Linked DNA regions of Homo sapiens: all the other regions are linked to region 1. The links are contacts of gene promoters, found by promoter capture Hi-C in blood cells and fetal thymus (Javierre and others, 2016). All regions are on one chromosome and are shown on one strand. The core of a region is centred on a gene start or on the middle of the fragment in contact, and the rest is flanking DNA. Distances in the headings are between cores, read along the strand shown.

Region 1 (4,026 bases), core at 177-2,676:
TGCCCCCGCTGTGCTTCTCAAGTATCTTGGTTTAGATAATAAACTATGTAGTAACCCCAGCTTTGTTTCAATTACCAATAGACAGAATATTATCTTCATGAAATTAAAACATTCAGGTAAAGTGTTCACCACAAACACAGCGCAGTGATTAAAGAACTGGGACTCTGGGGTTTCTCTAGCCACTTACTATCCTGAAACAATGGCCACATACTTTACCTCTTTGTCGATCAGCTTTTTCATTTTTTAAGTGGAGATAATATACCTCCCTACTTCACAGGTTGTCCTAAGGATTATATTAATTATATATGTAATATACTTAAAAGAGAAGCATAGCAAGAGATTTGCCTGAAGCATAGCAAGAGATTTGTGTTTGTCATATTATGATTATACTGGGTTAAGTCACAGGAAGTTAACTGATTAAGCACTTTTAAAAATCTGGTGAGGTGAAAAATAAGAGAGTAACAGATTGAGAAACGAATGCGTACTGTGGAAATAGAGTCAAAGAATGTAGATCTGAAGGAAATGAAAAAGGAGAGAATATTGTGTCATGGCGAGGATATTCAGCAATTTTTGTCTTGACTTTTATCCATGTTGTATAACTTGTTCTAATCTGAGTAGCTAACTGAACGCAGGAAGACATAGTTTTTATATTTTTCAGCAGTTCATTTATTATAATCAAAACTGTCTTGCACTGTGATAAAAGGGCACTGAAAAATAATCATATTATACTACACAGCACTATCCAGGGAGTAGATATAAGATTTAGATAATGAAGCTTAGAAGAGATATGTAAAATTATAAACGTGGATGCCTTAGGGTCAAAAGATGGTTTTCTCTTAAAATGAATAACCAACAATTAAAAAGCAGTCAAAAAGCAAATAAATATACATCTTAGAGGGAATTGAAATGTTTTGTTTGGAACCTGATGTATGTTTTATTTTAGGGTTTTACAATTCCCAAATTTTAAAACAGAGATGAAACTAAAGCGAATTATTTTAATGTAGCTTATGAGTTGCAGAAAAACATTTGGCAGCATAAAAAACAGTCATATTTCAAAAAATAATGCAATCCAATAAAAAGGCACAACTCAGAATGAGTTAAAATGTTTAATACACTATAAATTAATTACTATAGAAGATTAATAAAGAAAAGTTATTCTATAGTTCGTTGACTAAAATTTATAAAATAATCTTATTTGGCCATTTTGTATAAATAGATCAAGGGAGCTCAACGTACTAAAACATGTACATATATGTTATTTATATTCTCACTATAAACTTCTGCAGATCAACAAGTAAAACCTATGATGTTGGATAAATGAAACATGCATGAGAGTGTTCATCATTAGCTGCTTTTTTTATTGAATGCTGCAGTTCAAATTTCTCTGACATTTACATGTAGTTTTGGAAAAATGCAGAAGTCAGTAATGAGAAAACACACAGCAATAACAACATTCATCCTTCTGGGACTGACAGAAGATCCTCAGCTGCAGGTTCTGCTTTTCATGTTTCTATTTATCACCTACATGTTGAGTGTAACAGGGAAACTGACCATTATCGCCCTCACCATGTTGGATCCCCACCTGAAAACACCCATGTATTTTTTTCTCCAAAATTTATCTTTCTTAGAAATCTCATTTACAGCTACCTGTGTTCCAAGATTCTTATACAGTATCTCAACTGGGAACAAAATAATAACGTATAATGCATGTGTCATTCAGCTATTTTTTGCAGACCTCTTTGGGGTAACTGAATTTTTTCTTTTGGCTACCATGTCATATGATCGCTATGTGGCCATCTGCAAACCCTTGCATTATATGGCAATCATGAGCAACAAAGTGTGCAAAACAATGGTTATTTGTTGTTGGATGGCAGCACTTATGATTATCCTCCCACCACTTAGCTTAGGTTTTCATCTAGAATTCTGTGACTCTAATGTCATCAATCATTTTGGCTGTGATGCATTGCCTATTCTGAAAATACCATGCTCAGACACATCATTAATTGAGCAGATGGTTGTAGCCTCTGCTGTATTAACCTTTATTATCACTCTTGTATGTGTAGTTCTGTCCTACACATATATCATAAGAACAATTCTAAAATTCCCTTCTGTTCAACAAAAGAAAAAAGCCTTTTCTACCTGTTCTTCACATATTACTGTGGTTTCCATCACTTATGGCAGCTGCATCTTCATCTATATCAAGCCATCTGCAAAAGAAGAGGTAAACATTAATAAAGGTGTGTCAGTGCTTATTTCATCCATATCACCTATGTTGAATTCTTTCATATATACTCTTAGGAATGAGCAAGTTAAACAAGCCTTTCATGACTCACTCAAAAAAATTGCATTTCGTTTAAAAAAGTAAAGTGTACCTAAGTTGATAAATCAATATAAAAGATCTGCTTCATATTTTTCATAAAGCCAATAACCAACTTTGTAATTTCTTAGTCTATAGAGCAATCAAGTTGACTGCATAGCCATTTAATCATTAATTTTTTATTAATTTACGTACTGAGAAATTAATTATTGAATAATATTCTATGATAGACAAAATATATCACTTTTAATCCTTAACCAGATTAAACCACTCTTTTTTCCTTCTTTCCAGTTGATTTTCTCTGATAATTTTAAAATATGGGTGTGAAGTTATTTTTTTCCCAACTTCTATGAGTAGTCATTCTTTTTTTTTTTTTTTTTTTCTCCCCTGGAGATAGATTCCCACTCTGTTGTCCAGGCTGGAGTGCGATGGTGCCATCTTGGCTCACTGCAACCTCCAACTTCCAGGTTCAAGCAATTCTCATGATTCAGCCTCCCAAGTAACTGGAACTAAGAGCATGCGCCACCACGCCCACCTAATTTTTGTATTTTTAGTATAGACAGGGTTGCACCATGTTGGCCAGGCTAATCTCAAACTCCTGGTCTCAAGTGATCCACCCACCTCGGCCTCCCAAAGGTGCTGGGATTACAGGCGTGAGCCACTGCACCTGGTCTATGAGAATTCACTCTTAATCAAGATACAAATTCCTTGCCTCACTGAAAAAAAGTCAGATTTAAGTAACAAACTTTAAAATATCTACAGCAAAAAGAGAAAATTTCATGAAAAATATTAAAGAGAAAACATAAGTAAAAGAATAGCTTTATGGTACAGTTAACATGAAAGGCTTAATATAATAAATATGTAGGAAGTTTCTATGAATCAAAAAAGGCAACAAATTTACTATAAATACCAAGAAAATATTAGATATTTATTTTACTAAAAAATAAAATTACCTATAGCAATAGGAAGGGATGCACAACTTCATTATTAGCCACAGATTTAAACATTAAAGTCATGATATACATTTCACCCATCATATTTGCACAAACTAAATTTTTCGTATGTTCAATATTAGCCAGTATGCTAACACTTAAAGTAAAACATACACCTCAATGCACAATTTACTTGAAAACATTGGAATTTATATTTACTAACAGTACATATAAGATTTCATCTAGAAATCAACATCTAGGGATTTATGCCAGAATCTACTTGCCAATTATTATACTCATTGCAGTCATTTTGTAATAGTAAAAGATTGAAAATAACCAAATGAACATCACTTGGCAATGTGTAAGTCAATTAGGGAATTACAGCATAAGATGTAGTACTTATCAAATGATATAGAACTTGATCTTATAATGGAAGGATATTAAAATTTTTAAAAACTGGCTGGGCGCGGTGGCTCACGCCTATAATCCCAGCACTTTGGGAGGCCGAGGCGGGCCGATCACGAGGTCAGGAGATCAAGACCATCCTGGCTAACACGGTGAAACCCCGTCTCTACTAAAAATACAAAAAATTAGCTGGGCGAGGTGGTGGGCACCTGTAGTCCCAGCTACTAGGGAGGCTGAGGCAGGAGAATGGCATGAACCCAGGAGGCAGAGCTTGCAGTGAGCTGAGATGATGCCACTGCACTCCAGCCTGGGCGACAGAGCGAGACTGCAACTCAAAAAAAACAAAAAAAAAATTTTAAACTATTTGCAAGA
Region 2 (4,585 bases), core at 521-3,020, 300 kb before region 1:
AACTTCTCTAAAGTTGCCATAAGAAACCAACAGTTTTTTAAAGTTCTTTGTTTTAGTGTCTTATAGAAGACTTGCTTTTTATTATTCAAAGAGACAAAAACAATATATATTAGCTAGAATATATACACCGTGACAAAAGAAAATTATATTTAAATCAATACATTTAAACAGGGTTTACAATAGGTGTAATAAGATTGTATGTCTCAAAGGCAGACATTTCCCTAAGTCTTTACTCACATGAAAAACAAATAAACAAACCAACAAAAAACAGGTGGATAAGAGCAAAGGAAAACTCATGTTTCAGATAAAGAATTCAGGTCTCTCACTGGATTTACAAACTAAATATTTAAAGTTCTTTCATGGTGTACACCACTCATTAGTATTTATTAACAGTTGGTTATTTAATATGTATGACCTTAAGATGTACAGAGAGCACACTAATTAAAGGAGCATACTCCAATTAAGAACTTAAATTCTAATAGACTATATTTGATACTAAAATAGTATTACTTCCTGTTTATTTCATTTTTTGTTTTATACTCATAAAGGATATTTCATTTTCCTCAGGAAAATGGCATGAAACATACTGGACTTAATGCTATTACCACTGGAGAAGGAGAAAATGGTAGCTTGACACATGAGATGCCCTGTAAATACTGTTGAATGAATGAATGATTAACAATTGAATGAATCTACTGTGTAGTTTCCTTTTACTTACAGACATTGAAAAATGTGTGACAAATCCAAATGTTTTTTGGTAGCTAGGCTATAAATGCTTTAATAAAAGAATATGTTGGTAGAAGAATCATAAAATCGGGTAACCTCTCTGTACAGTAGCATAGGTTTCAGCTACTATGACTGGTTTAGGCCGTTTGTCTAAGAGAGTTCCTTTGGGTTATCCTTTGAAAGGCTTCCTTTACTTCCTTGTTCCTCAAGGTATAGATAACAGGATTCAAAGCAGGTGTGACCATTGTGTACATGAGTGCAGTTGCTTTGTCTGTTTCTGGAGTGTGTGCAGTCTTAGGTTGCAGATAAGTGAACAAGGCAGTGCCATAGAACAGAGAAACAACCAAGATATGAGAAGAACAAGTGGAGAAAGCTTTGTGTCTTCCAGCTGCTGAAGGGATTCTCAAGATGGTCACAGGGATGTGCATGTGGGAGCACAGAATGAGGAAACAAGGACTCACAATAAATAGCACGGAGAGAGAAAACATCACAATTTCAATTTGGGAGGTATCAATACAAGCCAGTTTCAGTACAGGCATTATGTCACAAAAAAGTGTTGAATCTTTCCTGTTCCACAGAAAGGCAAAGTGAAGATCAGGGTGATCTGGGCTGACTCCACCACCACTCCAGTGAACCAAGATGCTGCAGCCAATTTCAAACAAACACGAGGGCCCATGAAGAGAGTGTAATGCAGTGGGTAACAAATAGCTACAAAGCGATCGTAAGCCATAGCTGCTAGCAAGCAGCATTCTGTCAGTCCCAAGATGGCAAATATGTACATCTGGGTTGCACAGCCACCCACACTTATGGTTTTGGTCTCCACCAGCAGGTGCACCAGCATGAGGCACCACACTGGTGGTATAGCACATCTCCAGAAATGAGAGGTTCACCAGGAAGAAATACATTGGAGTGTGCAGGGCAGGGGTGATCCAGATCAGGGAGATGATGATGATATTTCCTCCTATAGTGCATAAGTGATGATTAAGAACACAATGAAGAGTACAAGCTGTAATTCTTCTATAGAAGAAAAAGCCACAAATGTGAATTTGGCACACAGGGACTGATTTCCATCTATGGTGGGCTCAGAGCTAAACATCTGTGCAGACAACAAAGAAGGCAGGTTAATGGGAATGCAGTCACCTAACACATCTCTCTACTGAACCACAGCAAAGGAGCTTTCCTAGAATCAGTAGTCTGAGATGAGAATCTAGACACCTGGATTTCTTCTGTTAAATCTTTCTAAACTACACAATTACATCGAATACATATTTCTTCCTGATTTTAAGTTATGGATTATATGCAATTTTCACAAACATTTGGAAAAAACAATGGTTTTTAAGTTGCATATTCTGAATCTTTTGTTTTTGTCTTATCACTAATTATATACAGAAGCTATTATGCAAGCAATATATGAAGACTTATAATTTTAAAGGAGTCACATAAAAATTAATAGATTCAGATGTAAAGGTGTTATACTCTGGTCTTCCAAATTCTATAACCTTCCTTAAAGCTACACTTAAGGGCTTAAAAGGGAATATATTTCCAGCTGTTTATCTATGTATTTATGTACATATTTTACTTGATCTGAACAGAATAAGCAAATAATTACAAAGCTAAGATCCAAGAAAGCCAAAATCGACAGAATCTCCTTTCTACAACCTCAGTGTAAATTTGCAAGAAATTACAAATAGGAGAACATACCTAGAACCACAAGGTAAGCTTTCTTTTCCTTTTTGGGCTCCTAGACTTCCTATGGCTCTAAATTATAGCACAGTGATAGAATAGGCAGTATTTTTATTTCTACTAGAGACCATAGGGAATACATCCACTGTGCAGCTTAATTATATTTGTCTCAAGAGGAGTATATTAAAAACAATGAGTGTTTAATGTGCAAGTTGGTTTTCAGTTGTTAAAGACATTTCCAGAGATACCTATTGCTGTCAGTTATATCACCTGTTCCAATGCATAAAACTAAAAGTTGCTAATTGGAACCCATCATACAACTGAAATTATTATTAAACTCTATGGATGTTTGCCATAGTAATCCTTTTTAAGCTCCTCAAATGGACAGTGACTAATTAGGCCTTTGTAATATTGGTAGGCACAGTGCATGGAACATAGTAGCCTCCATAAACCCCCAAAATAGCATTCACTTTATTCATTATTTATTATTCAATTGCTAGCAGCATTAAAAAAATAGGCACGGGAAGAAAACCCCAAATTTCCAATGGAATTAATTAAAGTAATTGGTCAAAAACATTAAAAAATGTATTTTTCTTCTACTGTCTTCAAGAAATGAAAATATTTTTCATTCTGAATGATCCCCATTGCTCCATTCCGGACACATTTTCTTTTCACTGTCAGGTCAATATGGTAAATTCATTGGGACATAGAGTAAGGCAAGTAAAAGAGGTTACAAGATCGATCAGTTTTGAAACTAATGCGTTAGATGGGACTGCTATTCTCGCCTCCCACGATTCCCATGCCAAACCAAAAGGCAGGAGTTTTAGACATTGTCTCTCCCTCCTAAAAAAATATGTATGCTTTTTTTGTGCCACTCATGCTGCCTCAGAGATGAAAGCCATGTGTTTTGGGGAGTGCTCTTCCATCAGTGTGGAGGTACTGCCAGAATGAATATACCACATTGAGAATGTTTAGGTTGGTGCAAAATTAATTGCGGGTTTTTGCCATTACTTTGCACCAACCTAATATTTAAGAAAACGCATTCTATTTGATGGTATAGCATCCCTGAAATACTGCAGCAGAAGGTCACATCATGCATAATCAGTGATATTTTGCCAAATCTCCCCACCAGGGTCTGGGAGTAAGAGTAAGTACATAGCTGTATTTCTTTGATATGTTTTTGCCACAAAATACTTACAAAACAAAAACAGCTGCTAATTTCTCCACATTAATTCCCACCTGGACTCTGTGTTGTGTTTATTTCTCAATCTGATTCTGAAATTAGAGGAATTTTTTTTAAATATGGATACATGATTGGATGTGGGGTATTTAAGTGAGAATAGTAAAAAGTCCTCTCCTGCTGCCTCAGATCTGCTTTTATCCTGAGTAAGTGGGTAAGAGGAAACAATGTTTGGTGAGATAATGGCCAGATTAGTATATGCACTACTGATAATAACAACAACATATAGACTCCAGATTCCATCATGCTATCTATCGCACATCCTCCTAGAGTCCAGGAGTTTTTCAATGGTCCTGGAAAAAGTACTTGAGATGAAAGGGTGCATCTTATCTATGTGGTATTTTTGAAGGCAAGAAAAGAGAGTATTTAGGAAGGGAGTGATCAACTGCACCAAATATTTCTGAGATGGTGTGAAAAAATAGCTTTTAATTATCTGTTGACTTTTAGCTCCACACAGGCTATTGATGACTTCAGAAAAAAATAATTTGGAAAGAGAAGTAAGAACATGAACCAGAGTGAAGTTGTTTTTGAGGAAATAGAATTTTAAAAATGAAAAAAACCAGTAGGAGCAATACATTCTAGAAATTTGGCCATGAAGGGCAGGAGGAAGACAGGGTAATAACTGGAGAAAATGAAAGGACAGGACACAATGACTTATTGTGATTCACTACGTTTTTAAGATGGGAGAACCATGAGCTTTTTTATTTTTATTTATTTTTATTTATTTTTTTGAGATGGAGTCTCGCTCTGACCCCCAGGCTGGAGTGCAATGGCGCAATCTTGACTCACTGTAAACTCCGCCTCCAGGGTTCAAGTGATTCTCTTGCCTCAGCCTCCCAAGTACCTGGGATTACAGGCACCCACCACCGCGCCCGGCTAATTTTTGTATTTTTAATAGAGACGGGGTTTTGCCATCTTGGCCAGGCTGGTTTTGAA
Region 3 (4,364 bases), core at 50-2,549, 320 kb before region 1:
GAGGCAAGAACGTGGATTTTAGCTAAACTAAGGAGCAAAATATCCCACATCATTTTGGTGGCCTGTATGGGGACATGAGGAAGGGTGAATCAAATGCAGAATCCCCCACAAAACCTCTTTCCCTTTTGTTTCTCAGCTTTTTCTTGCCCTCAGACATCTTCTGAAGGTAGAGAAAACTGTGACCCTCCACTTCCGTTGCCTTGGGGATTGCGAATGTCAACCTCAGTCCAACCCAGTCTTTTCTATGGCATTTTCCTTCTTTTGGGGGGGATTGTAATGGCACCTATCTTTTCTTTTACAATATTGGGGGTGTTCCACCACCACCCCAATGGTCACAGGCATGCATGCAAGACAGATAGGTGAGTGGTGACTCCCTGCCCACCTCCACCCAGCTGGGGCTGGGGCACCTGGCCCAAGGGCTCCACACAGCACGCTGGCCAGCATTCCCAGCAGCATCGAAAAGTTTCTCTCCAGTCCAACAGCAAGTAAAATTTCTCTCCCTGTTGGAGGAACACATTTGCATAAGAATAGGAGATTCTTCCCCCAGGCATCTTTCCAACTCTGTACTTAAGATGTTTTATTTTCTTTTCTTCACCCCATCAGCACTTAACACATCCCTGCACTTTAAGCTGTATTTTTTCTTTTCTCCACCAGGTCAGGAGTTGGTGGGTTGGTGCAAAAGTAGTTGTGTTATTTGACATTACTTAGCATGATGGGGACCATGAATGCTTTTGCACCAACCTAATAACACGCTCCTGCAAGTAGAAGGGACTTCTCTATGCCAGAGGCCTTTTTTCCTTTGAGAAGACATTATACTAGGCCAGGACTCAGTACACAAGACACCCTTTTCTCTCTCTTGTTGGAGGAGGACTCAGTTCCACAGCTTCACCTTAGCATTTGGCTTGTAAAGTGTCCACACAACCCGCCGAAGCAGTTCTTTTGTCCCAAACTCAATTCCAAGCTTTGAGTCGAAGCCCTAGGAAAGAAAACTCAATCTGGGGTATAGTGTTGAATAATATTCTATTGTCTAAATGTGCTACACTTTCTTTATCCATTCACCTACTGAAGAGCATCTTGATTGCTTCTGTTTTGGTAATTATGAAAAAGGTGTTACAGATATCAGGGCATAGGTTTTTTCGTGGATATAAGTTTTCAACTCTTTTGGGTGAATACTACACAGTGTGATGGCTGGGTCATATTGTAATAGTGAATTTAGTTTTGTAAGACAAGGCTAACCTGTCTTTCAAAGTGGCCGTGCCATTTTGCATTTCCATAAAAATTAAATGAACATGCTTGTTGCCCTATATCCTCACCAGTATTTTGCATTGCCAGTGCTCTGGATTTTGGCCATTCTAATAGATGTGTGGTAGTATCGTGTTATTTTAGTTTGCATTGCCCTGATGACATTTGATGCAGAACATCTTTTCATATGCTTATTTGACATTTGGCTATTTTTTGTGTGTCTGTTAAGCTATGTGGCCTATTTTTAATATTAAGTTATTTGCTTTCATATTGTTGAGTTTTAAGAGTTGTTTGTATATTTTGGTAACAGTCCTTTATCAGATATGACTTTGCAGAAATTTCCTTTCAGCCTGTGGCTTGTCTTTTTATTTTGCTGACTTTTTTTTTAACTGTACAAAGCTTACACATTAGTCAGATTTATTACTAAATATTTAATGTTTTGAATCTATTCAGTGGTGTATTTTTAGAAGAATCCAGTTATACTCTAACTCTCCCAGAGTTATATTAGAAATACCATATAACACTCCCAGAGATATGTTAGAAATAACATATCTAAACTCATCATGAGGCCAACATTACTTTGAAAACATATCCATCTCTCATGAATATAGCTACAACAATTCTTAATAAAATTTCAGAAAATCAAATCTGCAAATATAAAAAGAGGAAACATTAATGTTACCACATTATAAGAAATCAATGTAATTCTCAAGGCTACACTAGATTCAAAATATGGAGAAGTATATGTAAATTCTATCTCTTTGTAAGGATGAGCTGGCAAATATCAGAGTGATATTTGCAATTAATCACAAGATAGTATCCCCCTGTTGAAGGGTGTGAAGTAACACACTAGAAGGGGCAGGTTGATGAATATAGAGCCATTGTATAATCTCCACCCTTTTTCCTTAATACTCCAATTTTTTGAAAGAGAAATAAACTTATAGCTTATTCAGGTTGCATTGATTTTGTGATTTATGATCCTCATAATTTTCAAGAACAATCCTTGTAAATATGCTATTTCTGTGTGGATCCTTCCTCCACTCCTTGATGCTGGATGCTTCTCCCATACCGCAGATTTGAGGTTTACTTCCCAGAAAGTGTAAAGCGGAGGGTTTCTAGACTTGGAGACATAATGTACAGAAGATGAGTGGTTTTATACCAAAACTATGCGACTAAATTCCATATTCTGAACATATGTGAGATGTCCCAGGACTCCTCCCTCATTTGACAATTTTTGCTTCACATATTTTAATGGTCTGTGATTAAGTGTGTGAATGTTTATAATTGTTTTATCTTCTTGTGGTATTAAAACTTTTATTGATATGTCCTCCTTTTTTCTTGTTATTTTTAAAAATTTAAAGTCTATTTTTCTGATGTTAGTGGAGCCACTCCTGCCTTCTTTTAATTACTTTTCTATCATTTCACTTTTAATCTATTTCTCTCTTTAGATCTAAAGTGAGTTCCTTGTAGGAAAGTATATAGTTGTGAACCATGCTTCAAGGGGTTAAAAAAATTAATAAATTCTTGGGCTTACTGCATGGCAGATAAGAAGAGAAACAACTTACTAAAACTGTGCCCCGAAAGTAAGAAACTAGTAATTAATAGAAATTATTGAGTTTTCAGGATAGCAGACAAGAAAATAAACAACTTGATGAAATGCTGAAACTCTCTCCGCTGTAAGATAAAGAAAAAATTTGCTGAAGTCAGTTGGAACCAAGACGGCTGTATTAGTCCATTTTCATGCTGCTCATAAAAACGTACTTGAGATGGGGTAATTTATAAAGAAAAAGAGGTTTGATGGACTCACATTCTCAGTCTCACAGTTCCACATGGCTGGGGCGGCATCACAGTCACGGTGGAAGGTGAAAGGCACAAGCAAGCAAAAGTGGTTTCTCCATTATAAAACCATCAGATCTCATGAGACTTATTCACTACCACAAGAACAGTATGGGAGAACCACCCCCACAATTCAATTATCTCCCACCGGGTCCCTCCCGCAACATATGGGAATTATGGGAGCTACAATTCGAGATGAGATTTGGGTAGGGACACAGCAAAACCATATCAGTGGCCAACTAGAGTTTGCACATAATGAGCTTGCTGATGTCACCACAGCCTTAATTTCCGCTGCATGTTTTATACTAACTCCCCCTGAATTTGCATATGCAATGCATGAGGTAGTATGAAGAGATAACTGCACATACCAAAGGACTTTCCAGACCTCCTCTTTCCTTTCATCAATCACCTGCTAATTTCAGAATTAACACCCTAAACCTTTTCTAATGAGATTACTGCCTTAAAGCCAGCACAGGGAGGAAGACTTGAGCTCAACTCCTGTCTCCTTATGAGTCAACTTGGCAATAAAAAGCTTTTCTTTTCTCAAAAACCTGGTGTCATAGTATTGGCTTTTAGTGCATCAAGCAGCAAACCACTTTTGTTTCAGAAAAATTGAATCTTTTTTTGTTTTTTTCTTCCATTCCGTCAGTATCTATTTTTTTGATTGGAGAGTTTAATCATGTACATTTAAAGTAAGAATGGGCTTATTTCTGTTACTTTATTATTTCTATATGCCTTATAGTTTTTAAAAATCCTATTTTTCCTGCAGTACTTTTTTTTGGTGTTTAGCCTTTTTTTTTTTTCTACTGAAACATTTACATCCCTTTCCCATTTAACTTTTTCATGTATATTCTTTAGTTATATTTTTGTGGTTACCATGGGAATTACCTCTAATATTCTAAACTTTTAATATTTATACCAGCTGATTTAAATTTATACCAGCTTCAATAACACACAAATTCAATAACATACAAAAGCTCAGCTTCTTTAACAGATCCATCTCCACACCTTTCAGTTGCTGACATAAAATTACATTTTTATACATCGTGTTTCCAAAAAATAAACTAATGATTTTCTAATGCATCGACCTCTTAAACATTTTTCTAATATATTATTCTCTTGAATCATGTAGAAAACAAAAAGTGGAGTTACACATCATTGTTACAATAATACTAGCTTTTATAATTTCCTATGTATTTACTTTTACTGAGATTTTTACCTTTTTATATGGCTCTGAATTACTCTCAAGTGTCTTTTATTTCAGCACTTTAGCATTTCTTGCAGGG

What was found. Contacts are between HindIII fragments. The CHiCAGO score rates a contact against its expected background, and 5 or more counts as called.
Region 2: a fragment that was not itself captured here is called in contact with the fragment with the promoter of OR6C68 in region 1 in 4 of 17 cell types (monocytes, naive B cells, total B cells and 1 more); the score reaches 5.7 in monocytes.
Region 3: a contact is called between a fragment that was not itself captured here and the fragment with the promoter of OR6C68 in region 1, in 1 of 17 cell types (M1 macrophages). The highest score is 5.7, in M1 macrophages.

The regions. Positions count from the first base shown.
Region 1 is chr12:55,490,952-55,494,977 of GRCh38, forward strand. It overlaps OR6C68 (olfactory receptor family 6 subfamily C member 68), which reads left to right and starts at 1,427. Exons shown (of 1, transcript NM_001005519.2): 1 at 1,427-2,365. The coding sequence starts at 1,427. The coding sequence ends at 2,365. The HindIII fragment of the contact is 4,433 bases long and covers 774-4,026 here.
Region 2 is chr12:55,192,995-55,197,579 of GRCh38, forward strand. It overlaps the pseudogene OR10U1P. Among named protein-coding and RNA genes, the nearest start is that of OR10A7, 26 kb to the right of the region's middle. The HindIII fragment of the contact is 1,346 bases long and covers 1,098-2,443 here.
Region 3 is chr12:55,173,109-55,177,472 of GRCh38, forward strand. No RefSeq gene overlaps it. Among named protein-coding and RNA genes, the nearest start is that of OR10A7, 46 kb to the right of the region's middle. RefSeq lists enhancers at 1-252, 1-132. The HindIII fragment of the contact is 680 bases long and covers 960-1,639 here.